3 separate regions of the Homo sapiens genome follow, and regions 1 and 2 are each linked to region 3. Evidence: promoter capture Hi-C in 16 types of primary human blood cells and fetal thymus (Javierre and others, 2016). All regions are on one chromosome and are shown on one strand. Each heading gives the region's core, a stretch centred on a gene start or on the middle of the fragment in contact. The rest is flanking DNA. Distances are from core to core; before and after follow the strand shown.

What was found. Contacts are between HindIII fragments. The CHiCAGO score rates a contact against its expected background, and 5 or more counts as called.
Region 1: a contact is called between a fragment that was not itself captured here and the fragment with the promoter of BNIP5 in region 3, in 1 of 17 cell types (total CD8 T cells). The highest score is 5.1, in total CD8 T cells.
Region 2: a contact is called between a fragment that was not itself captured here and the fragment with the promoter of BNIP5 in region 3, in 2 of 17 cell types (total CD8 T cells and naive CD8 T cells). The highest score is 5.8, in total CD8 T cells.

Annotation. Positions count from the first base shown.
Region 1 is chr6:36,049,403-36,053,810 of GRCh38, forward strand. MAPK14 (mitogen-activated protein kinase 14) reads left to right here. Exons shown (of 12, transcript NM_139012.3): 2 at 3,297-3,426. Among named protein-coding and RNA genes, the nearest start is that of MAPK14, 24 kb to the left of the region's middle. The HindIII fragment of the contact is 837 bases long and covers 2,293-3,129 here.
Region 2 is chr6:36,000,421-36,004,673 of GRCh38, forward strand. The region is part of intron 3 of SLC26A8 (solute carrier family 26 member 8); the gene reads right to left. LOC105375034 (a long non-coding RNA gene) reads left to right here. Exons shown (of 4, transcript XR_926746.3): 2 at 1,355-1,511. Among named protein-coding and RNA genes, the nearest start is that of SLC26A8, 22 kb to the right of the region's middle. The HindIII fragment of the contact is 4,645 bases long and covers 1-4,130 here.
Region 3 is chr6:36,334,757-36,338,580 of GRCh38, forward strand. It overlaps BNIP5 (BCL2 interacting protein 5), which reads right to left and starts at 2,132. Exons shown (of 12, transcript NM_001010903.5): 1 at 1,956-2,132. The HindIII fragment of the contact is 11,027 bases long and covers 401-3,824 here.

The DNA of each region.
Region 1 (4,408 bases), core at 1,461-3,960, 280 kb before region 3:
CCATGGAGCACACTTTGAATAGCAAAGGTATAAATTAGTGGTTCTCAAACTGTAATATGTATTAGAATAACATGGAGAGCTTGATAAAATACAGATTATTAGACCCACTTCAAAGTTTCTTATTCCATTAACTCTGGGGTGGTACCTGAGAATTTTCATTTCTTATAAATTCCCAGGTGAAACTGATGCTGCTGATCTGGGAACCTCTGGTGTAGGTGACTTTTTTGGAGAATTTTAACTGTGATGGAGAACTGTTAAGGGAAGTCTTTTGTTTGTTGGCTGAAGGCGGTAAACAAGTAGAGCAAATTTATGCTGATGAGAATGGTCCAGTAGATAGGGAGACACTGATGATGCAAGAGAGAAGAGGAATGAAGAAGTGAAATCCTTGAGAAGATGAGGGAGGTGGCTCCAAAGCATGTATTGTGGTCTTGAATTTTGATAAGCAGGGGCATATTCTTAGTTATAGCAAGAGGGAAGGTGGAGACGATGGGTTTATAGATTTGGGGCTAAGCAAATGGAGCTCCCCTCCTGATGGTTTCTGTTTTCTCAGTGAAGGCAAGGGCAACTCTTGAGGGAAGAGGGTGAATTGGAGATTTGAGAGAGAACATGTCAAACGATCATTTTCGAGTAGGAAAATGAACTTACTAGAAGAAAATGGCTTTATTGAGAGCCTCTTTGAGATTAAGGTCAGAAACTAAGAATGAAAATCTGATTCTACAGTCTTTCTTGTTCAACCTCAGTTCCTTGGATTCAGTCATGGAGAATTAAGTGGTTGAGATTACCCAAGGTTAGACTTTATCCAGGTGAGTACATCAGAGAGACAGACAGACAGAGAGAGAGAAGTGCAAGGGAGTGATTATAATCATGGAACAGGAAGGGAGATGAAGACAGAAGAGGGCTGAAGGATAGAAACAAGCAATGACAATGAGGTTAACAAATTGTTGTAGTCAGGGTACAAGTAAACTAGAGGTAACTAGGTTTTTGATGAAAAGCAAATGCTGCTGGCATTCAAAATTTTGTAGGTGGGGCAGTTTTTGGTAGGAATAAAGGTCTAGAATGTGACCATGAAGATGGCTGGGTGTGGTGGAGTTTCCTAGAGAGGTCAGGAAACAGGATGTTGGGTGTGCCGTTCACCTGGATGTTGAAGTTGCCAAGAATGATGACAGAAGTTGAGAGTGTAGAGAGATCTTCTGGATAGAAACTAACTTTTCAATGAATGATGGAAAATTTCAGGTCAGTGGATACCTGCAGCAGAGAGGGATAGTTTATCAGGGTTGTGAGCAGGAGGTATTTTATAGAACAAACGGAAAGTAATGGTCCTGAAGTGGTAACGGCTGCCAAGGAAGACTCCTACGCACCTGCTAGCCAGGAGGTATCTGGGCTATTAGAGAATGCTTTCTAATGGCAGGGCTATAAGAGAAGCAGTGTCTTCTAGAAATGGCCTAGTTTCAGAGATGGAGGGGAGGTTCAGAAAAGAGGTTGAAGATTTATAGGAGTTTATCACAAATTGGGATTTGAAGATTGAGGGTATGCCATAAAAGTTTGGGAGTGAAAGGAAGGGCACTGGAGTAGGTACAGAGTTGTAAAAGCAAGTTTGGCAGGCAGAGAGTTTGGTGATAACAGATGACCAGAAAGTCTTGGATACATGTTAGAGACTGAGACAAACTGGAGGATGAGGCATAATGGAACTGGCCCAGACAATTTCTGTTATTACTATTTTTTTTTTTTTTTGAGACCGAGTTTCACTCTTATTGCCAGGCTGGAGTGCGATGGTGCAATCTCAGCTCACTGCAACCTCCGCCTCCTGGGATCAAGTGATTCTCCTGCCTCAGCCTCCTGAGTAGCTGGGATTACAGGCACCTGCCACTGCGCCTAATTTTGTATTTTTAGTAGAGATGGGGTTTCACCATCTTGGTCAGACTGGTCTCGAGCTCCTGACCTCGTGATCCTCCCGCCTCGGCCTCCCAAGGTGCTGGATTACAGGCATGAGCCACTGTGCCTGGCGACGATTTCTAAAAATAATTAAAATACACATCGCATTTTTGCTATAGATGTCCTCCATGATCTAGCTGCTGCCTGCATCTCTTACGTCATCCCTTCCCACTCTCCCCTTGCTCCCTGTGCTCTACCCACACAGCCTTTCTGTCTTTCTGTCACTCACTCCAGCATGCCATACGTTTCCTACCTCTGTTTCTTTTTTCGTTTGTTTGCACTTGCTCTTCTGAGAGATAGCAGAGTCAAGTGGTCAGTAGCATAAGCTCTGGATCCAGACTCCCTGCTCTGCCGCTTTTAAGCTTTGTGACCGTGGTCAAGTTACCTAACTTCTCTCTGCTTCAGTTTCTTACTTGTAAGTGGGAGAATGATAATAGTACTTATTTCATAGGGGATTCGGGGAAATACAAAAGCTGAATTGAGACAAATAAATGTAAAGGGCTTAGAACAATTTCTTGTATGTGTGGGTAAAGACTCTATAAACATTAATATTATTATTATTTCTTCTGCTTGAAGCTCTTTTTCTTATATATTTATATAGGGAATTTAATCATTATATTGTTTCCTTCTCAGCTCAGATGTCATTCCTCAGCCATCCTAGCTAAAGTGGTATAACTCCACTGGCTTTCTGTCACTCTTTATCCCATTACCCTTTTATTTAGTCATAGTATTTTCATCACTACTTGAAATTATTTTATTATTCTGTTCTGCTCTTCCCCCATTCCCTGAAGGTGCCAAGTACTTTGTAGGTGCTCAAGAAATATTTGTGGCAATTTATTGTCCTGAAAACATGGTTTCCTGGGCCTCGACTCTGAGCAGGCAGCAGATGTGGCAAGGTGACGACAGTGAGGCCTAGGCAGGGAAGACAGAATTCAACTCTGTTTATTAATCTGTTGGCTCATCTAGATCAGGCAGCTGCCAGTTTTTGTAAATTTTATTAGAACACAGCCACACCCATTTTAAAACTTATTTTCTGGCTGCTTTCCTCATACAACCACAGAGTTGAGTAGTTGTGACAGAGGTCTTACTTACAAAGTTGAAAATATTACTATCTGGCCCTTCATTGAAAAAAATTTGCTGACTTCTGATTTAGATACATAGAAAAGACAAGGAGAAAACACCAAAAATAATAACAGAAGCTTTATTTGGATAATGGGATAATAGGTCATTTTGCTTTTTATCTTTATGCTTTTTTTTGGTATTTTGTTATAGACCCTTTAATTTGGAAATAGCCTTATAAATACCCCAAAATAATATTTAGAACAGCTTTTTAATGGTGGGTTTTTTCCCTTTTTTCTCCTTAGTGCTGCTTTTGACACAAAAACGGGGTTACGTGTGGCAGTGAAGAAGCTCTCCAGACCATTTCAGTCCATCATTCATGCGAAAAGAACCTACAGAGAACTGCGGTTACTTAAACATATGAAACATGAAAATGTAAGTTATTCATTCAAGGAAGAATACATTTTGATCTTGAATAGACTGGGGAAAAATGTTTTAATTACTGCAGATGGAAATACGCTGGAGTGCATCAAACGTTGGTCCCTGCTCCTTGTCCTGGGGTGTTAGTGGCCACTTGGTTATGTCAGGTCAAAGACTTGGAATGAAAGTGATGCATCTTCCTGGAGTTTTAGTTTTACTCAAAGATTTTTAGAGGAGAAAGAACTCTTTAAAATTTTAAAATTAAAGGATATGTTATGAAATACAACACAAAATTCACAATAATTTTTAAGAGAAAATATTAAAAAGAAGTTATGTATTCTTTGCCTGGTTTTCCTAAGGCTATATTATGAGAATATGGGAGTCTGTGGCTATTAAAAGACAAAATAGCCACAGACTCCCATATTCTCATAATATAGCCTTAATATTTTTAAGTGGAAAAATCTGAGAAAGAGTGCCTTAGGCTCACTGAAAGTCCTATCAGAGATGGCTATTATTTTATATATTTGTTAATAATTTTTCTTTTTTTCCAGATTCACGTATTTTAATAAATATGTCAGAGGCATTGTTTAAGTTAAATATAACTTTTTCTTTTTTACCAATTTGTTGATTCAGTTGCCATTCTGCAAAGATGCTTACAAATTCTAATACGATAAATAAGTGGATATAATTGGAATACTAACTGAAAGTAAAAAGACAGTTGACTGAAGACACTTATTTTACTGAATTTCAAAATCAAGTTATGAATTTCTGTGACTGCTATATGAAGGGTACTGTGAAGTTTGTAGCATTGTGGAAACAATGGCCATAGAGATTTCAAAGTCCTCTGGCTGTACTGCTTGTTACCTTGTGGAAGAAAATTCAAAATCTGTGAATTTATTATTTGACTATTTAGACTGTTTTAGTAATTTAACTTCTTCATAGCGAGAAAAAAGTCACAGATAAGTGACTCTTCATTAGCGTACATTTGTTTCATTAG
Region 2 (4,253 bases), core at 558-3,057, 330 kb before region 3:
CTCAAAAGCAGCCCCATCCTTATGCCTAGTCTAGCACAAGCAGGCCGTGGGAATTCTCCAGGGCTGAAGATAAAACTGGAGAGCAAGGCAAGAATCACACTTCACTGACTTGAAGTTGGTATGTGTTGGTTCTCTTCCATAGGCCAATCACTCCAGCCTCTTCCTTCAGCTGCTTCTCTAATACTTACTTTCTTTTCTAAGAAGCACCATGAGAATTTGGAAATTTTGAAGCAAATGGACTAACAGGCATAGTGTCATCCTTTTGATGTTTCAAGCCCCTATTTCCTTCCCTAAGAGTCTGTCCTCAATTTACATCATACTGATATACTCATCTAAATTCAGTTATGAATTTAGTGAGGTGGTTTATTGTCTTAGATAAGCAAGGCTCCTTTTTATAAGACATTTCAAACACATCCAAAAATAGAGTATAATGAATTCCATATACCCATCATCCACTTCAACAATGGTTAACCCATAACCAATCTATGCTTCTACTCCTCTCTCACCCTATATTACTTTGAGGCAAATCCAAGGCATTCGATTATTTAATCTGTAGATATTTTGGTATGTGTCTCTAAATGATAATACTCTTCTAATTTAAGTACAATATCATCATTATCCACTCAGTGTTCAAATTTCCCTGATTATCTTACAAATGATTGTTGTGGTAGAGGGTCTCTAATATGATCCACAATGGCCAGTTGGTATTCTTTTTCTTTTTTTTTTGAGACGGAGTCTTGCTCTGTTGCCCAGGCTGGAGTGCAGTGGCGCGATCTCGGCTCCCCGCGAGCTCCACCTTCTGGGTTCATGCCATTCTCCTGCCTCAGCCTCCCGAGTAGCTGGAACTACAGGCGCCCACCACCATGCCCGGCTAATTTTTTATATTTTTAGTAGAGATGGGGTTTCACCGTGTTAGCCAGGATGGTCTCGATCTCCTGACCTCGTGATCCACCCGCCTCGGCCTCCCAAAGTGCTGGGATTACAGGCGTGAGCCACCGCGCCCAGCCAGGCCAATTGTCTTCTTGCCCTTGTACAATTTCCTCCCCATTAAGTGTGGAATAGACTTAACCAATTTGTTTCTAAGGAGTAGACTATAACAAAAATGACAGGATGTCACTTCTGAGATTAGGTTGCAAAAAGACTTTGGTTTCCATCTTGGTTGCTCTCTCATTCAGGTCATTACCTGCCAGAGGTGGCTTCAAAGGTTTGTAATCTATGCAGTCAAGACAGAGTCCTGGGCTTAGAAGGACTTTGCACTTCGTTTAATGCTTTGCTGTCACTGTCTTGAAATTCTGAATAATTTTTGAACTAAGGGCCCTGTGTTTTTATTTTGTATTGGGCCCAACACATATAGTTGGTCCTGCCAGCTGCCATGTTGTGAATATGGAGAAGCCAGAATGGGGAGGAACTCAGGCCTGCCAACAGCTGCATGAGTGAGCCTGGAAGCAGATCCTCCAGCCTCAGTAGACCCTTGAGATAACTGCAATCTCACGAGAGACCTCGAACCAGAGGTATGATGAGTTTTGGGGTGATCTTTAAAAAATTATTTGCTGTTACATGTTGTGCTTTGCTTCACAATCTGTGTGTCTAAATCAGAACCCAAATATGGTCCTCACATTGGTTGATATGTCTCTTAAGTCTCTTGTAATCTATAGGATTTTTTCACCACATTTTTTCCCCTATGCAAGGCTCTATTGATTGCAAGTAACAGAAAATCTACTCAAATTAGCTTAAGCAAAATAGGAAATTTATTAAAAGGGTACAAAGGGCAGTTAGACCTCATCAGAGACTGGAACCGAACTAAAAAGCCATCAGAATCCAAGGTTGCTACCTTCCCATTCTCTTTGTTTCCAGGGTTCATGGTATCCTGTCTTTGTTTCCAGTTTGGGGCTATTATGAACAATATTGCTATGAATATTCTTGTACATGTCTCCTGGTACATGGATTTACAAGTTTCTTGAGAATATATAGCTTGAATTTCAACTTCTGGGGCATTTACTAAATAGTGCCAAACTGTTTTCCAAATGGTTGTGCAATTTATACTCCCACCAGTAATGTATGACAGTTCCCATTATCCACATCTATGCTAGCACTCGATACTGCTAGATTTTTAATTTTAGTGTGTATGGTGGTAACTCATTTCAATTTCATTTTCCATTTTATTACTAATAATGTTGAGCACCCTTGTCTAGTTATTTTTATGGATTTATAGGAGTATGTATATTATAAATAAAGCCTTTGTTGCGTATTGTTTTGCAAGTATCTCCCATTTTGTGATTTGCTTTTCAATCTTTTTTTTTTTTTGAGATGGCATCTCTCTCTGTCTCCCAGGCTGGAGTGCAGTGATGATCTTGGCTTGCTGCAACCTCCACCTCCTTGTTTGAGCGATTCTCCCACCTCAGCCTCCTGAGTAGCTGGGACTATAGGCGCACGCCACCATGCCCGGCTAATTTTTGTATTTTTAGTAGAGACGGGGTTTCACCATGTTGGCCAGGCTGGTCTCAAACTCCTGACCTCAAATGATTCACCCACCTCAGCCTTCCAAAGTGCTGGGATTACAGGCATAAATCAGTGTGACTGGCCGCTTTTCAAACTTTATAGCAGCTTTGAATAGATAGAAGTTCTTAAATTGTACTTACCTCAGATTTATCGGTCTTTTCCTTTGGGCTTTTCCTTTTGCTTTTGGTGTCTTACTTAAGAAACCTTTTTCTACCTCAGGATCATAAAGATATTCTCTTATGTTATTCCAAAATGTCTTTTTTGCTTTAACTTTTACATTTAGGTCTTTAATCAACCAGGAATAGATTTTTGTGTATGGTGTGAGGTAAAGGCCTGAAATGTTTTTCTTTATAGAGACCCAAGTGTTTTACATCATTTGTCATTAACAGCCTGTCTCTGTAGTGACATATCTGATACACATCATGTGATTCATATACGTGTGACTCTTTTTTCTGTTTCATTGGCCTAATTGTCTATCTCTGCAATATTGTACTGTGTTAATTGCTCTAATTACTTTAGTAATAGTTTTGGTAATTAATTTAGTAATCTCCATTTTTATTGTGAAATATAACATGCATGTAGAAAATGCATTAAAATAGATTAATAGATGTCAAGGTTACTTAATATTTATAAAACAAACACTTACGTAAGTACCACCCAGGTCTTTGATTACAACACCACCTCTCCCCACAGAAGGATTCCTTATTTTGGCGTTTATGATAATAATTTCTTTTCTTTTCTTTTTTTCTTTTTTTTTTTTGAGACAGAGTCTCACTCTGTTGCCCAGGCTGGAGTGCAGTGGCACAATCTTGGCTCACTGCAAGCTCCGCCTCCCGGGTTCACGCCATTCTCCTGCCTCAGCCTCCTGAGTAGCTGGGATTACAGGTGCCTGCCACCACGCCCAGCTAATTTTTTGTATTTTTAGTAGAGATGGGGTTTCACCATGTTAGCCAGGATGGTCTCGATCTCCTGACCTCATGATCTGCCTGCCTCGGCCTCCCAAAGTGCTGGGGTTACAGGCGTGAGCCACCATGCCCGGCCTATTTCTTTGCTTTTCTTTACCAGTAGTGTACGTATCCCTACACAATACAGTTTAATTTGCTCCCATTTTGAACTTTATATTAAGAGTTATACTGAACACAATTTTATTTCTGCTTTTTTTTTTTTTTTTTTTGAGACAGAGTCTCGCTCTGTTGCCCAGGCTAGAGTGCAGTGGTGTAATCACAGCTCGCTACAGCTTCAACCTCCCAGGCTCAGGGAATCGTCCCACTTCAGTCTCTCAAGTAGCTGGACTACAGGTATGCACCACCATGCCCATCTAGATTTTTTGTAGTTTTCATAGAGACAGGGTGTCACTGTGTTGCCAGGCTGGTCTTGAGCTCCTGGGCTCAAGCAGTCCACCCGCCACAACCTCCCAAAGTGCTAGGATTATAGGCATGAGCCATTGCACCTAAGCATAACTGATTGTTATATGCTGATTTAGTATCCAGCAACATTCATAAAATCTTACTATTTTCTTTGTTTTTCTTTTTTTATGCCTTTTTAAAATTTTTTTTGCTTTTAAAAAAGTCATATCAATTTTCTTTATATTCTTTTGAATTCTTTGCATAAAAATCATCTGTGAATAATGAAGCTTTATTCATTTATAATTCTTATACTTTGTACTTCTTTTTCTTGCTTTAATATACTGTGTATGCACTCCATTATAATGTTGTAATGTTGAATAGCCCCTATTTACTTTTTTTCTTTTTTTT
Region 3 (3,824 bases), core at 882-3,381:
ATATAAAATTCTGCTATCCAGGATTTATCAAAGCAAGACTTTCCTTTCCTTTCTTCTTCTTTTTTTGTTTTGTGCCCCAGGTGCTCAACTACGTTCAGTCCGACCACCAGGGAATCCCACCCTGTGCAGACTGTGCTCCAGACCAGGAATCCTAAGTGAGCAGCGTGGTCTCACTATGCGGAAACCCAGCTGATCTTGTAAACTTGTTATTGCCTTGGCCGAAAGTGGATGTCAGAGCAAAGTCCAAATCAGCTCAGAAATACCCAAGTGATCTGCACATCACAAGACTGCTTCTGATAAGATGTGACATTTACCGGTGACATGTCCAGCAACAGCAACAAAGAACCAGAGAAGGCTCACAAAGCTGACCCTGGAACGGGAAGTTTGCTTGCCTTCCCCAAGCTTGCTGCTGTGTGTTGTTTACTTTCTAAGTTGCACGGTGACCTCATCTCTATGCTGTTCTCTAATTTGTTCACCTGGCCGCGTTACTCTCTAACTGCTCTGGTGCCTTTCATGGAGATAACTTCGCGGCTCCCCTTCTCCACCCCATGATTCACACAATAGAAACTTCACAGAGAGCCAACCTGCTGCACACCCACAGCAGCACCCTGAGGGACAGAGTGTGTGGCACACACACGTGGACCCACAGTCAACACCACAGACATCCACGTGTCACCAGAACACACTTGTGCACACCACAGACCAACATGGACTCAAGACGCCCTGTATTTCTCCTGTCCCAAGTGTAAGGGAATAATTATGTGACCAAGCTCACCGCTTGCCATCGGTCCTAACTCTAAATTCCATGAGAGGGGACCTGAGCCTGGGAGGCTCTCAGTGTTTGTGAAACAAACAAATGATACACAGGCATGTGCAAACCCAAACCAGCTCACCTTCATGCAGCCACACGGCGTCCAGAGAGCCGTTTCATTGACATGATCTCATTTCATCTTTGCCAGGAGCAGTGAATCAGATGGGCTAACAGTGGGGCACTGAGGCTCCGGACCATTAAGAGACACGCCCAAGGTCACATAGCCGGGAAGCAGAGAGCTGAGACTCTCCCACTTCTCCCGATTCAAATCCTACATTCTCTATTCTACACCAAATGGCCTCATGTAAGCATAGATACACATGCACGCACTTACACATGGACTTAGGGGAGAAACCTGCTATTTCACACTGATGGAGGTAATCACAGTCACATACACACCTACCATGACCTATGCACATGGAGTCACACAATCACGTGTGCCTAGGTATAGACACCCATGCCCTCCCCACCCCATTCTGTCCTCTATCCAAGACCACGGGCAATGCAACACTGTGTGAGGAGTCGGTCAGGACTGTGGGTTATAATCCACCTCCCAGCCTCTACATTCCCATCCAAGAGAGCAGTAGACCATGAGTTATTTTAATAAGATTTCCCCATTCTTGGACTAACTTCCAAAAACCTTAAAACTCATAGAACCTTAATTTAACCATAGGTCATAATAACACCTCTCATTTATCAGGGGGTTCCCTCATGTACCTTCACATAAAGTCTATAACTTGACCTCTACCACATCCTGAGGGAAACTAGCAGGTGAGCTATGTAATGCTGCCCCATCCTACAGACAAGAAAACTGAGGCCCAAGGAAGTGAAGTTCCTTGCTCAGGGTGGCGGCTAATAAGCAGGATTGGGACTTGAATACAGAGTTTTAAGTCCGAGTGAGCCCAGAGCCCTTTGAGAAACACCCCGTTGAGATAATGTCATTGAACCTTGCTCCCTCTTTTTAGAGATAAGAAAACTGATCCCCCACCTCCACCCCCATTGCCTCTCTGGGAGGGCCCAGCATGCTGGAAGCAGCATTGGGACTGGACTCTTGGTTTGACACCCAGGACTAAACTCTTCTCCGGACCCCAAGATACATACCCACTGCTCCCGCCCCCAAAGGAGAGGGTATTGTTCAACCAACCTTGGACCACAGAAATCGCTTCTGTCCTGAACACCCTGGGCTGGGATCTTCAGACAAGAGGTCTCTGTGTTAGGCTCTGCTCCCTGTCAGCTGGAAGTTGTGTCCAGTGAGAAGTCAGACCCAGCTCTCCCAGGGAGAAGATGCCACTACTTTGGTGCTGGCAATTTTCTGAGTGTCTCAGAAGATGCTTTGGCCGTCCATATATACAGTATCTCCCAGGAACTGAGCTCATGGCAGCCAATCCAGAGAGCCATGGGCTGGCTCACCTTCCTCCACCTGTTACCACCCATCCCAGGACTGCTCCCCGCTCCTCCAATGATAAGAGGCTTAGCTCAGCTACCCTGGAAAAAACAGTTTCACTTGTCAACTTCCTTATTGCACCCAAACCCCAGTAAGAAACCAAAGCTCAGAAAATAACCTAAGGTCTGGCTGGGGAAAACCCCACCTGTAGAGTTGAAAACAAGACTTAATGGGAAATGCAGGTTAGGGGGAGAAAGTCGAGGTGGCTTTATTGCCTTTACAACATCCCTCAGTTATCTTTGAAGATTAGTGGGGAGGGAGGTACCTAGAAAGAAAGGTCAGCGATGGGATACATACATCCCTTGACCTGGAGACAACCCAGAAGGAAGAGCCCACAAGAGCCACGTGTTCCAGATCTGCTATGCCCGGGAAGGGTTGCCATGGATCTTGAGAGAACATTCTAAGAAGTCTTAAAAAGTCAGATTTCCACTTTCTGTAATGCCTTATTTTAAAAAATAGAGTGTAAATACATGTTTATAATCAGAAAAGAAAAACATGTTTTATTAAAATGAAAGCAAAGGCCGGGCACGGTGGCTCACACCTGTAATCCCAGCAATTTGGGAGGCTGAGGCAGGCGGATCACCTGAGGTCAGGAGTTCGAGACCAGCCTGGCCAACATGGCGAAACTCCATCTCTACTAAAAATACAAAAATTAGCCAGGTATGGTGGCAGACACTTGTAATCCCAGCTACTTGGAAGGCTGAGGCAGGAAAATCACTTGAACCCAGGAGGCAGAAGTTGTAGTGAGCTGAGATCGTGCCACTGCACTCCAGCCTGGGTGACAGAGTGAGACTCTGTCTCAAAAAAAAAAAAAAAAAAAAAAAGAAAAAAAAAGAAAAAAATATTAAGAAATTCTGTTTTGGTTCATTAACACAGGGAGGCATCACAAAATATATATGGAAGCACCAAACTTTGGAGTCAGCCCCATCTGGAGACACCTGCCAGCTGTGTAACCACAGCAGGGGACATGATGTCACTGAGCTTGTGCTCACTTATAAAACAAGTAGTCATCTCAGAGGGTAGTTGGGCCAAATGCGATAATGCTTACAAAGAAAAGAAGAAGGCCAGGCATGGTGGCTCACATCTGTAATCCCAGCACTGTGGGAGACCAAGGTAGGAGGATTGCTTGAGCCCAGAAGTTCAAGACCAGCCTGGACAACATAGTGAGATCTTATCTCTACTAAAAATTTTAAAAATTAGCCAGGCATGGTGGCACATGCCTGTAGTCTCAGCTACTCAGGAGGCTGAGGCAGGAGGATTGCTTGAGCCCAGGAGGTCAAGGCTGCAGTGAGCCATGATCGTGCTACTGCACTCCAGCCTAGGCAACAGAGTGAGATCCTGTCTCAAAGGAAAAAAGAAGAAAGGAAGGAAAGGAAGGAAAAAAAGAAGGAAAGAAAGGAAGAAAGGGAGGGAGGGAGGGAGGAAGGAAGGAAGGAAGGAAGGAAGGAAGGAAGGAAAAAGAAAGAAAGAAAGAAACAAAGAAAGAGAAGGAAAGGAAGGAAGAAAGAGAAGGAAAGGAAGGAAGGAAATGTATGGAGTGCCAGACATCTTTCTTTCTGTGTATTAACA